2 separate regions of the Homo sapiens genome follow, and region 2 is linked to region 1. Evidence: promoter capture Hi-C in 16 types of primary human blood cells and fetal thymus (Javierre and others, 2016). All regions are on one chromosome and are shown on one strand. Each heading gives the region's core, a stretch centred on a gene start or on the middle of the fragment in contact. The rest is flanking DNA. Distances are from core to core; before and after follow the strand shown. Region 1 holds the start of CBFB (core-binding factor subunit beta). Region 2 overlaps LRRC36 (leucine rich repeat containing 36).

Region 1 (5,783 bases), core at 1,079-3,578:
CTTGGCACAGAAAAGACACCTCTAAGCCTCCATGAGTGGGCCTTAGTAGAGCTGGATCTTAGCAAACCCCCTTAGCAAACACCCATAGCATGGTGTCTGGGCCAACCCATACCCAACTCAACAGCTGCCAAAGCTGTTAGGAGCACAGACTTAAGTGTACCTTACATGGGTGAAAATTTCCTTTATAAATTTCCTTTAATTCTGTTTTTTTAAATAAGTGAAAAAAAATTAACAACCAAAAAGGCATATAGAGGTCAGCCGAGGAGATGGCCTCCTTCAGCCTGTGGCTTATTTCCCGGTCATCCTGGCTGTTGGATGCCAGACTACGACGAGTGTGGGTTACCCTGTGGCCTGGAGTTGCCCAAGGCTGTCTGTGGGGCTGCTGTTCTGGGTCTGCTTGGCAGGCTTTGCTGTCCCTTTCCCTTAGGACATCGTTCCTCCCCTCCTTGAGGCTGACAATGAGAGCGCCCTGCCCTGCTCTGCACTCCCACCCCTCCAGGTCTAGCTCCCTTGACCCTGACCTTTTCCTTGCCTAAGCTCATGGCCATCAAGGCCATTCTAGAGATCTTTCAATTTTTATTTATTCCACATTTCCCATGGCAGAAACAATTATTGCTAGAGTCTTTGGCCAAGATCAACTTGGAGGTCTGTGAGCCCTCCTTGGACCCATTGTGGAGCAAGAGTGCTTCCTCATGGATTTTTTTTCCCCCCGAGACGGAGTTATGCTCTTGTTCCCCAGGCTGGGGTGCAATGGCACGATCTTGGCTCACCGCAACCTCTGCCTCCCAGGTTCAACCAATTCTCCTGCCTCAGCTTCCGAGTAGCTGTTTGAGACGGAGTCTTGCTCTGTGGCCCAGGCTGCAGTGCAGTGGCACCGTCTTGGCTCACTACAACCTCCGCCTCCCAGGTTCAAGCGATTCTCCTGCCTCAGCCTCCCGAGTAGCTGAGACTACAGGCGTGTGCCACCACACCCCGCTAATTTTTGTACTTTAGTAGAGATGGGGTTTTGCCATGTTGACCAGACCGGCCTCGAGCTCCTGATCTCAGGTGATCAGCCTGCCTCGGCCTCCCAAAGTGCTGGGATTAGGCCAGGCGCAGTGGCTCATGCCTGTAATCCCAGTACTTTGGGAGGCCGAGGCGGGCAGATCACCTGAGGTCAGGAGTTCGAGACCAGCCTGACCAACATGGCGAAACCCCGTCTCTACTAAAAATACAAAAAAATTAGCTGGGCGTGGTGGTGGGTGCCTGTAATTCCAAATACTCGGGAGACAGAGGCAGAAGAATCACTTGAACCCAGGAGGCGGAGGTTGCAGTGAGCCGAGATCGCGCCATTGCACTCCAGCCTGGGCGACAGAGCGAGGCTCTGTTTAAAAAAAAAAAAAAAAAAAAAAAAAAAAGAGGGCTGGGATTACGGGTATGAGCTACAGTGCCCGGCCACAGGACTAACTTTGAATCAAACTCTGCCATAAATCCCATGTCAGACTTTCTCCAGTTTGGGCTAAACAACTTCCCTAGAATTTATGGATCTTATTTTTTGCAGCTGATTGCACATTGAGTAAGTATATGGACTGGCAATCGGTTACATTCTTAACTCAGCTTGTTCTTCTTTAGAAACTTAAATTTATTGGGCTCCCACTGTGTGCTAGACCCACATAAAGGTTCTCACGCTAACACTGCAAACCTAGGAGTGTCTGCATTTTGGAAATAAGGAAACTGAGGTTTAGTGGTCCAATTCTTATCTAAGGCCCCAGCCAGCAGGTAGTGTAGCTGAGTGGGATCCCATCTAAGACCCATCTGACTCCAAAAGCCACGACCTTTCCACCATGACTCGGTTGGATTCTTTGGTCCGTTTCCACCTCAGTCTTCAACGTGCAGAGCCTACACCCCTGCCGGTCGGTTTAGGGACGAAAAGTCCCCAAGGACTTAGGTTTCCTCGCGTTCAAGTGACAATCTGGGGTTACTCCGCGCACCTGGGGAACCCAGAAGTTCCAGATGACCGAGGAAGGGCGGTAGAAAAGGCCTGCGCTGGCTACTCCCGTCTGCTAAAGGCCAGGCGGATCCCCCAACGACAGCTCCACGCCGAGTGGCCGCGGGCGAGCAGGGGGAAAAGGGCCCTGATGCGGAAGGAGCCCCGGGGCGCCACAGCCAGGCCGCTCCGCCAGCGGGCGGGTGGCGCATGCGCGGCGTGGGCCGCGGAGTTGTGAATGGTGCGTCTTGTTTGCCGGAGTTGGAGGCGGGCGGGCGCGCGAGGAGGAGGGGTGGGGCCGGCGGGGGCGGGGTGGGCGGTGAGAGGAAGTGGCGGCGGCGGCGGCGGCGGCGGCCGGGGGCGGTGAGCGCTGGGGCTGCGCGGGCGGCAGGCAACGGCTGAGGCGGCGGCGGCGGCGGCGGCGGCGTGGGTTGGGCTCGAGCGGGCGGCGGCGCCTCAGACTCCCCGGAACGGGAGCCCACGCGGGCGGGCGCCTGAAACAAAGGGAAGCGGGCGTCCGGGCGCCGCGGGTGGGCGGTCAGTCGGTCAGCGCGGAGCCAGCCAGCGGGTGCCCGCGCAAGCCCCGAGCGCGGCCGGCCGGCGCGGCCTCAGGGCGGGAAGATGCCGCGCGTCGTGCCCGACCAGAGAAGCAAGTTCGAGAACGAGGAGTTTTTTAGGAAGCTGAGCCGCGAGTGTGAGGTGAGGCAGGCGGGCGGGCGGCTAGGAGGCCGCAGCGCGCCCCGAGTGGGCCCGGGCGGAGAAAAGTTTGGGCGGCACGGTCCCCGGGAGTCCCGGTCGGTGCGCCCGCGGAGGGGCAATCTCGCCGGGGCGGCCATCGCCCGCAGCCTCTGCTTGCCCTTATCGGCGCTGCGCTGGGAGGGCGGGCGCGCGGGCGGCGCCGCGGATTTGGCTCCTGATTTCGGGCCGTCTTGCCTTGCAGATTAAGTACACGGGCTTCAGGGACCGGCCCCACGAGGAACGCCAGGCACGCTTCCAGAACGCCTGCCGCGACGGCCGCTCGGAAATCGTAAGTCGGCTGGCCCGGGGCGCGCGCGGGTCACTTGTTGCGCGGGGCCGCGGCGGCCCAGGCCGGTTCCGGACGGCGGCGCGGCTGCTGCGGCTCCCGGAACTGAGTGGGCGCCGTCTCACTTCCTACTCGGGATTCAAAATGCGAAACCAGATGCCGCGGGCCGGTACTCGCGGGGAGACGCTTTTCCTGGGGCTCGCCGCGGTGGCGCGTGTCGGCCAACGGAGCACCGCGAGTGGAGCTCGAACCCGAGCCAGACTAAACAAGCGAAGGGCATTGTTTAGGCGGCGACACCGAAGAAGGGTTCAGGGTATTTGTAGCAAGCAAACCCCCATTCGGAAAAAGAAGTGGAGCTTCATTCAAGGTCGGCGATAGTTTGTTTCTTAGAAGGTAGATCTGTCGGTAATTCTCTGTGTCAAGCGGTCTCACTACCAGATCGCCGAGTAGAAATCTTTCCTCCAGTTATTTATTCTAATAGAGAGGGGAGGGGGGGGAAAAGGCCCTAAAAATGTCATTTTCTTAGAATGTTAAGCTTCAGGAGAATCAGAAAGAAACCATTATCCCCATGTCCTGAGTAGGGCTGCTGTTCCTAAAAACTGCACAGATGGGCAAAACCCACGGTTGATCTCGAGGTCCTTGTTTTAGGAGGCAGATTTAGTGCGTCTTCACCAGACCTTGGGTTGAAAAAAAAAATCCAAGGGTCCTAGTTCCTCTCATCTTTTTGGTTTGCCTTGTTGGAGGTGCTGATGAGGAGGGAGTGGTAGGAAGAAACCAAGAAAAGAGGTTGATTATTACTATTTTTTTGAGGTAGAGTCTTGCTCTGTTGCCCAGGCTGGAGTACAGTGGCTCGATCTCGGGTCACTGCAACCTTCGCCTCCTGGGTTCAAGCGATTTTCCTGCCTCAGCCTCCTGAGTAGCTAGGATTACAGGTGCCTGCCACCACGCCCGGCTAATTTTTGCATTTTTAGTAGAGACGGGGTTTCACCTTGTTGGCCAAGCTGGCCTCCTGACCTCAAGTGATCCGCCCTCCTCGACCTCCCAGAGTGCTGGGATTACAGGCGTGAGCCACTGCGTCTGGCCTGATTATTTTTTAAAAAGTTGAAGCACTGTCTAATGGAATGCTGTTACTCTCTGCTCGGTGACTTGGACTCACTGCATTGTTAGAGGCTTGAAGCTAGGTGCGATTTGAATTTGGGTTAACAGTAGGAAGACATTGGAAATTTACTTCTCCCACCCCCTTTATAAAACCAGTTTATTTTTATTCAGATATAATTCATATGTCATAAAATTCTCCCTTTACATCACTGAACTCAAATTTATTTTTAAAGAATATTTTGATATTTTAAGTGAAAGCTTTTTAGAGTTGTAATAGTGAGAAGATACTGGTTAAATTTATCAGGAGCTCCTGAATATTTGGTCATTAGTGCATGTTATGAAAGAGAGTCTCAAGCTTTTAGCCCACTTGCAAATTTCTTGAGTAATTGTAGTATTTATATGATTGAAGTGCATAAGACATACTTTTAGGTTTTGGCACTGAGTGGTATAATAAAAGAATTCATTAGCTGGTGCGATGATCGTGTCATCCTTTGCCTGGGTTACCTTTTGCAAAGGGAAGGTGGTATACCTGACGATAGAATTTCCTGGAGGTAAAGGATGCAAGTATAAAAGATAAGTTACAAAGTACTTGTACTCTCACTGTTTGCTTTTTTGTTTTGAGACGGAGTCTCGCTCTGTTACCCAGGCTGGAAGCACAGCAGCATGATCTTGGCTCGCTGCAACCTTCGCCTCCTGGGTTAAAGCGATTCTCCTGCCTCAGCCTCCTGAGTAGCTGGGATTACAGGCACACACCACCACGCCCGGCTAATTTTTTTGTATTTTTAGTAGAGACGGGGTTTCACCATCTTGGCCAGGCTTGTTTTGAACTCCTGACCTTAAGTAATCCTCCCACCTCGGCCTTCCAAAGTGCTGGGATTACAGGTGTGAGCCACCGCGTCTGGTCTTGTTTCGTTTTTTTTTTTTAAGAGAGAGGTCTTGCTGTGTGGCCTAGGCTGGGGTGCAGTGGCTGTTCACAGGCACAATCATGAGGCACTACAGCCTCAAACTTCTGGGCTCAAGCGATCCTCTTGCCTCAGCCTCCCAATAGCTGGGACTACAGGCTCGGCGTCACCATACGCAGCCCCATGTGTTGTATTATCATCACTATCTTTGAAAGCTGAATTTTTTTGGAAATTTGGTGAATCATAGCTAGTAGGGTGTTTTCTGTCATCTCAGACTTTGCTGAATGGAATTATGAATTCAACCCATAGGATATCTGAAATGCTGTAATATTATAGTAGTAGTACAGGTGGTTAGTGTTTGTCATGAATTTATTTCCAGGATGAATTAGACATTCTAGACCTTCCCCGCTTCCAAATAATCTGATCCTCACCTGAGCCCGGGAGGTCGAGGCTGCAGTTAGCCATGATCGTACCACTGCACTCCAGCCTGGGTGACAGAGTGAGACCCGGTCTCCAAAAATAAAACAAGTATCTGATTCGACACATTTTACAAGTTTTAAATTTCTGAGAAGTATTAAAGGTTAAAGAAGGTAGATTGAATGCTGTGTGAGGTTTGCACTTAAGACGGCTCATGTCTTATTTTGTTAAATAATGTAACTATTGGTATTTGGAGAGGAATTTCACGTTTCCTAGTTTTCTCTCTTTCTAGTTTCCCTCCTTTAATTCAGTGTTAACCCACATTTAATTACAGGATCCTTAGCTCCTAGAGGGTAGAGACCTCATTAATTTTGTA
Region 2 (5,783 bases), core at 881-3,380, 340 kb after region 1:
ACTTTATTTCATTTACTCTTTCCTGACTTATATGTTGTTATTATGAATTTTAATTCTCTATATTTTTAAAGACTTCACAAGATATTATTTTTTATATAGTCAGTGTAGATTTAAATCTATCCATTAATTTACTACTGTTTGTTCACTTCCTTTTTCTTCCCAGGCTTCCCTTCTGATATCATTTTCCTTTGCCTTACAGTGGCACATACTTTAATGTAGGTCTATTAGTGATGAGCTCTTTCAGCTTTTCTTTGTGTGATAATGCCTCTATTTCACTATCATTCTTGAAGGGTATTTTAGATGGGTGTAGATTTCTAGGCAGTTCGTTCTCTCTCTCTCTTCCCACTTCCTTCTCTCTTTTTTTTTAATTTTTTTTATTTTTGAGACAAGTTCTCAATCTGTTGCCCAGGCTGGAGTACAGTACAGTGGCACAATCAGAGCTCATAATAACCTCAAACTTCTGGGCTCAAGCAATCCTCCCACCTCAGCCTCCCAAGTAGTTAGGACTACCACCACACCTGGCTAATTAAAAAAATTTTTTTCGGACCAGGCACAGTGGCTCATGCCTGTAATCCCAGCATTTTGGGAGTCCGAGGCAGGTGGATCACCTGAGGTCAGGAGTTTGAGACCAGCATGGCCAACATGGTGAAACTCCATCTCTACAAAAAATACAAAAATTAGCCGGGCATGGTGGTGCTTGCCTATAATCTCAGCACTTTGGGAGGCCGAGGCGGGTGGATCACTTGAGGTCAGGAGTTGGAGACCAGCCTGGCCAACACGGTGAAACCCCATCTCTACTAAAAATACAAAAGCTAGCTGGGCATGGTGGCATGTGCCTGTAATCCCAGTTATTCGGGAGGCTGAGGTACGAGAATCGCTTCCCTCTGGGAAGCGAAGGTTGCACTGAGCTGAGATTGCGCCACTGCACTCCAGCCTGGGCGACAGAGTGAGACCCTGTCTCAAAAAAAAAAAAGAAACAGAATTTGTCTCCAGAATGTTATAGATTCTTTACTGTTTACACAAAAGTCCCACATTTTATTGGTGGTGGTGGTGTTCCATGTGGAAGTCCTTTCATCACTTTATGCTACCATTGATCAGAATTATAAACCACCTCTTCCTGAGAGGTGTTTCTGGCAGACAGAGAATATGTTCAGTGAACAGAGGTACTCCCAGCTAGGCCACAAAGAATTCTTATCATGTTTTGTTTTTTTGCCTTGGTGGTGTTTAGAGTTCAGACACTACTCGCCTCGTCAGTCCACAGTCCGATCCCCAGAGAAGATGACTAGAGAAGGGTACCAAGTATCTTTTTTGGACAATAAGTCTTCAGGTTCTTCTCCAGAAAAGGAATTGATACCAAAACCTGATACTTTTCATCTTACCCATGATGCCTCATTGAGTAAATGCCTGGATGTGGGTGATTCTAGCCAGATCCATCCCTATCAGTTACCTTCAGATGTTGGTCTGGAAAATTATGACAGTTGTTATTCTCAAACTCTATCCCTGCATGGAAGTCTTGGTAAAAGGCCTCAGAGAAGCAAGAACTATCAAGAGTATAGCATAAAGCCTTCAAATGACATAAAGACCACCGCTTCACATTCCTGTGGAGACTTATTAACTTCTCTGTCAAACCCTGACTCCAGCACTGGAAGGCTTTTGAAGCTTAGTTCAGGTAACAGCTTCCTGTCAGTTTACAGGTCTTCTTCATAGGCATGAAGATAGAAGATATAAGTGAAAATTTTGGAATTAACCCTTCTGAAATTGTATTAGCATTTCTTAAGTTGTATTTTAGGGTCACCAGTGGTTCTTGGAACCTCGAGAAATCTGTAGGGTATGAGTTTAACATGATATATATATTAGGGAAAATTTGTAGGAAAGTGAGCATTGCAGCTACTTGCTATTTTAGTTAAGCAGCATCCCAGGACATCTAGTCTTTACTCACAGTCACTTCTATTCTGACTTACTTTCAGAAGAAGTTAGTTTCAGGCTGGGCACGGTGGCTCATGCCTGTAATCCCAGCACTTTGGGAGGCTGAGCCGGGTGGATCACGAGGTCAGGAGTTCGACACCAGCCTGGCCAACATGGTGAAACCCCGTCTCTACCAAAAATACACACACACAAAATAGCTGAGCATGGTGGCATGCGCCTGTAATCCCAGCTACTCAGGAGGCTGAGAGGCAGGAGAATTGCTTGAACCTGGGAGGCAGAGGTTGCAGTAAGCCAAGATCGGGCCACTGCACTCCATGGGCAACAGAGCAAGACTCCATCTTGAAAACAAAAACAGAAGTTAGTTTCAGAGTTAGTGACAGAGATCACTCTTCTGTTACTTATTTATTCAACCAAACTCATTGAACACCTACAGTGTCCCAGACACTGTTCTAGCTCTGGAGATAAAGTAGCAACCAAAATAAAGTTCCATGTATATTTTACCATAATAAGAAGACAGTCCCTACTTTCATAGAGCTTACATTCTCATGGGGTAAGACACATGATAAACATTTTAGCATGCAAATATATGTCAGGTTATGGTAAATGCTGTGAAAAAATTATATAAGGGCATAGAGCGTGATAAGGAGGAGGCGATGCTTTAGATAGAATGGTCCAGAAAGCTTCTCTGATGAGGCACCATAAAAGTAGAGACTTGAATGAAGTGGGAGTATAAGCCATGTGGGTCTGGGAGGAGAACTTTCTAGACAGTGGGAATAAATGCAAAAGTCCTGAGGCTGGAACATACTTTTCATGTACAAGGAACCTCAGGGAGGCCAGTGCGGCCTCAGCAAAGAAAGTAGAGTGTATAGATGAAGTAAGAAAGATGCCAGACTTTTTTCTGGGTGAGATCAGAAGGAGTTGGAGAGTTTGTAGCAAGGGAGTGATGTGATCTCACTTAAGAATTACTGTGAATGTTGGGCTGAGAATAGACTATGGGGAGGAGGGTAGAAATTTTTTTAAAATGCTTTGGAGAGATTGGAATCAGCGTAACAGATGATGATGGCTTGGGCTAGACAGATAGCGGTGGAGGTGGTGAGAAGTAGTCAGATTCTGAATATGTTCTGAAGATGACACTCCATGGTTTGCTGATGGATCCAGGATAAAGTGTGGGAGAAAGAGGGTCAATGGTAATTCTGTGGTTTTGAGTCTGAATAACTAGAAGAACAGAGCTTTCATTTACTAAGATGGAAAAGAATGGGAGGTAGAGATTTTAAGATAAATATCAAGAGTTGGGTTTTGGACATCTTAAGTTTCAGGTGCCTTATTAAAACTTTCCAGAGATGCCAATTTGGTAATTGGACATACTAGTCCAGAGTTTAGGGAAGAAGGTATGGCTGGAAATATAAATTTGGAGATTATAAGTGTATGGGTGACAGTAAAACTCTGAGACTGGATGAAATCTCACCAAAAGAGTGAATATAGATAGAAAAGAGATCTGAGGACTGGTCCTGAGCCCTCCAACAATTAGAAGTAGATAAAGAGAAACCATCATGGAGAGTGAGAAAGCAGCAGCCAGTAAGATAGAGGGGAAAAAGCCAAGAGGAAGTAATATCCTGGAAGCCAAGTGAAGAATGTGTTTCAAGAAGGAGGGAGTGATCAATGCTAGGTCAAATGCTTCTCCTGATAGGGAGGGAGGGAGCCTGGGACTGAGAAGTGATTATGGTATTTGGCAATGAAGAAGACATTAATGAACAGCTTCAGGGGATGCATGAGAATGAAAGCCTCACTGAGGTGAATTCAAGAAAAAAATTGGAAGCAAGGCAGTAAAGTTACTGAATATAGACAACCCTTGTATTAGTCTGTTCTCACACTGCTAATAAAGACATACCCAAGACAGGGTAATTTATAAAGGAAAGAGGTTTAATTGACTCACAGTTCCACATGGCTGGGGAGGCCTCACAATCATGGTGGAAGGTGAATGAGGAGCAAAGTCACGTCTTACATGGTGGCAGGCAAGAGAGCTTGTGTAGGGGAACTCCCCTTTATAAAACCATCAGATCTCGTGAGACTTACTATCACCAAGAACAGCATGGGAAAGACCCGCCCCCATAATTCAGTTACTTCCCACCAGGTCCCTCCCATGTCATGTGGGAATTATGGGAGCTACAATTCAAGATGAGATTTGGGTGGGGACACAGCCAACCCATATCAACCCCTTCAAGGAGTTTTGCAGTAAAGGGAAGCAGAGAAATGGAACTAGCTGGAGAAGGGATGGGGTCAAGGAGATCCTGGTAGAAGTGATCTAGTAGAGGGAAAACTGATGATGCCAGGGAGAAAAGGGACCGTTACAAGAAAATGGAATCCAGTCCACCAGTGGAGAGGCTGGTTTTAAATAAAAGCACAGATAGTTCATCTATTGTAATAAGAAGGAAGGCAGAGAATTTATTAATACAGATACAGGAGAGTTGGTAGATTTGATGGTGTGATCATGTAGATGTTTTCTTTGATTGCCTCTCAGGGAAATAAAGGAGGTTGGCACCTGGGTGTAAGGAGGGAAGAGAAGGTGTTGGAAGTTTGAAGAGAGATGTGAAATATTTGTCTCAGAGAATAGAAGAGTAAATTGGCCAGAGTATTATATTAGGAGATGCCGGGCACAGTGGCTCACACCTGTAATCCCAGCACTTTGGGAGGCCAAGGCCAGCAGATCACTTGTGGCCAGGAGTTCAAGACCAGCATGGCCAATATGGTGAAACCCCATCTCTACTAAAAATACAAAAATTAGCTGGGCATGGTGGGTAGACCCAGCTACTCGGGAGGCTGGGGCAGGAGAATATCTTGAACTCAGGAGGCAGAGGTTGCAGTGAGCCGAGATTGTGCCACTGCACTCCACCCTGGGCAATCGAGCGAGACTCTCTCAAAAAAAAAAAAAAAAAAAAAATCAGAAGAACTGGGCACCACTAAGGGCGCAGTTACAATAGTGGTCATGAGTTTAAAGTGAGAAAGGTCAGAACAGATGCGTTTTTTTCTCCAGCTATGTTCCCCTGCTCTGGTGTAGGCTTGGAACATGTGGACGGTTAGATTTAACCAGAGTTGGAGTTTTGTCAGAGAGTTGAGGATGTATGCTAGGGAGTGGTTATTATGACCCTTGGACTACAGGCAAGGTATGGATAGAAGTGAGACATGAGGCAGTCAGAGGGCAGGTTCATCTGTTAGCCTGTTTCCTCCACAGATCTGTATGCCACAACCCATTTCAACAGTGACCCTGCTGTACTTGTCAATGTAGAGCAACAATTATCTACCAGCCTGGATGATTTAACACCAGCACATGGTTCTGTCCCAAACAACGCTGTCCTGGGAAACAGGACAACTCCTCTGCGGACACTGCTGTTGTCTCCTGGGACTTCAGAACACAGAAAGATTTTTACCAAGAGGTCACTAAGCCCATCGAAGAGAGGATTCAAATGGAAGGACAATATCCTTGCCAACCTGAATCTAAAGCATGGTTTCCAAGATGCTACAGGCAGCGAGGCAAGTGTTGGCTTGTTTGTGTTTGTGCGAGAAACAGGTCAGGTTCGAGACCAGAATGAGGGTTCTGTTGGGAATGGAGGTGGTTCTGACCAACAGGGCTAGAAATTCAAAGAGATTTTCAGAGGCTGGTGGCTAATACTGCCAAGCTAACACCTGTTGAGCCTTCTGCCCTTGGGAAAGTCATTCCCCCACTGCTGCCATTTTCTCACCTATATCACAGGGAGAACTGTCCCTGATCTACTTCCGGCTGAAGATTGAACTCTGTAGCATCTATGTTTACAGTCTCATCATATTTACACATTTGCTTCGGCCACACATGAAATAGTTCT

Evidence for each region. The method cuts DNA at HindIII sites, captures the fragments that hold promoters and counts their contacts. A CHiCAGO score of 5 or more calls a contact.
Region 2: a contact is called between a fragment that was not itself captured here and the fragment with the promoter of CBFB in region 1, in 1 of 17 cell types (erythroblasts). The highest score is 5.4, in erythroblasts.

Annotation. Positions count from the first base shown.
Region 1 is chr16:67,026,821-67,032,603 of GRCh38, forward strand. CBFB (core-binding factor subunit beta) reads left to right here and starts at 2,329. Exons shown (of 6, transcript NM_022845.3): 1 at 2,329-2,665; 2 at 2,907-2,993. The coding sequence starts at 2,588. RefSeq lists an enhancer at 1,592-1,731 and silencers at 2,292-2,481, 2,572-2,811, 3,062-3,111. The HindIII fragment of the contact is 7,418 bases long and covers 1-3,523 here.
Region 2 is chr16:67,365,789-67,371,571 of GRCh38, forward strand. LRRC36 (leucine rich repeat containing 36) reads left to right here. Exons shown (of 14, transcript NM_018296.6): 8 at 1,229-1,669; 9 at 5,156-5,454. Among named protein-coding and RNA genes, the nearest start is that of TPPP3, 25 kb to the right of the region's middle. The HindIII fragment of the contact is 947 bases long and covers 1,658-2,604 here.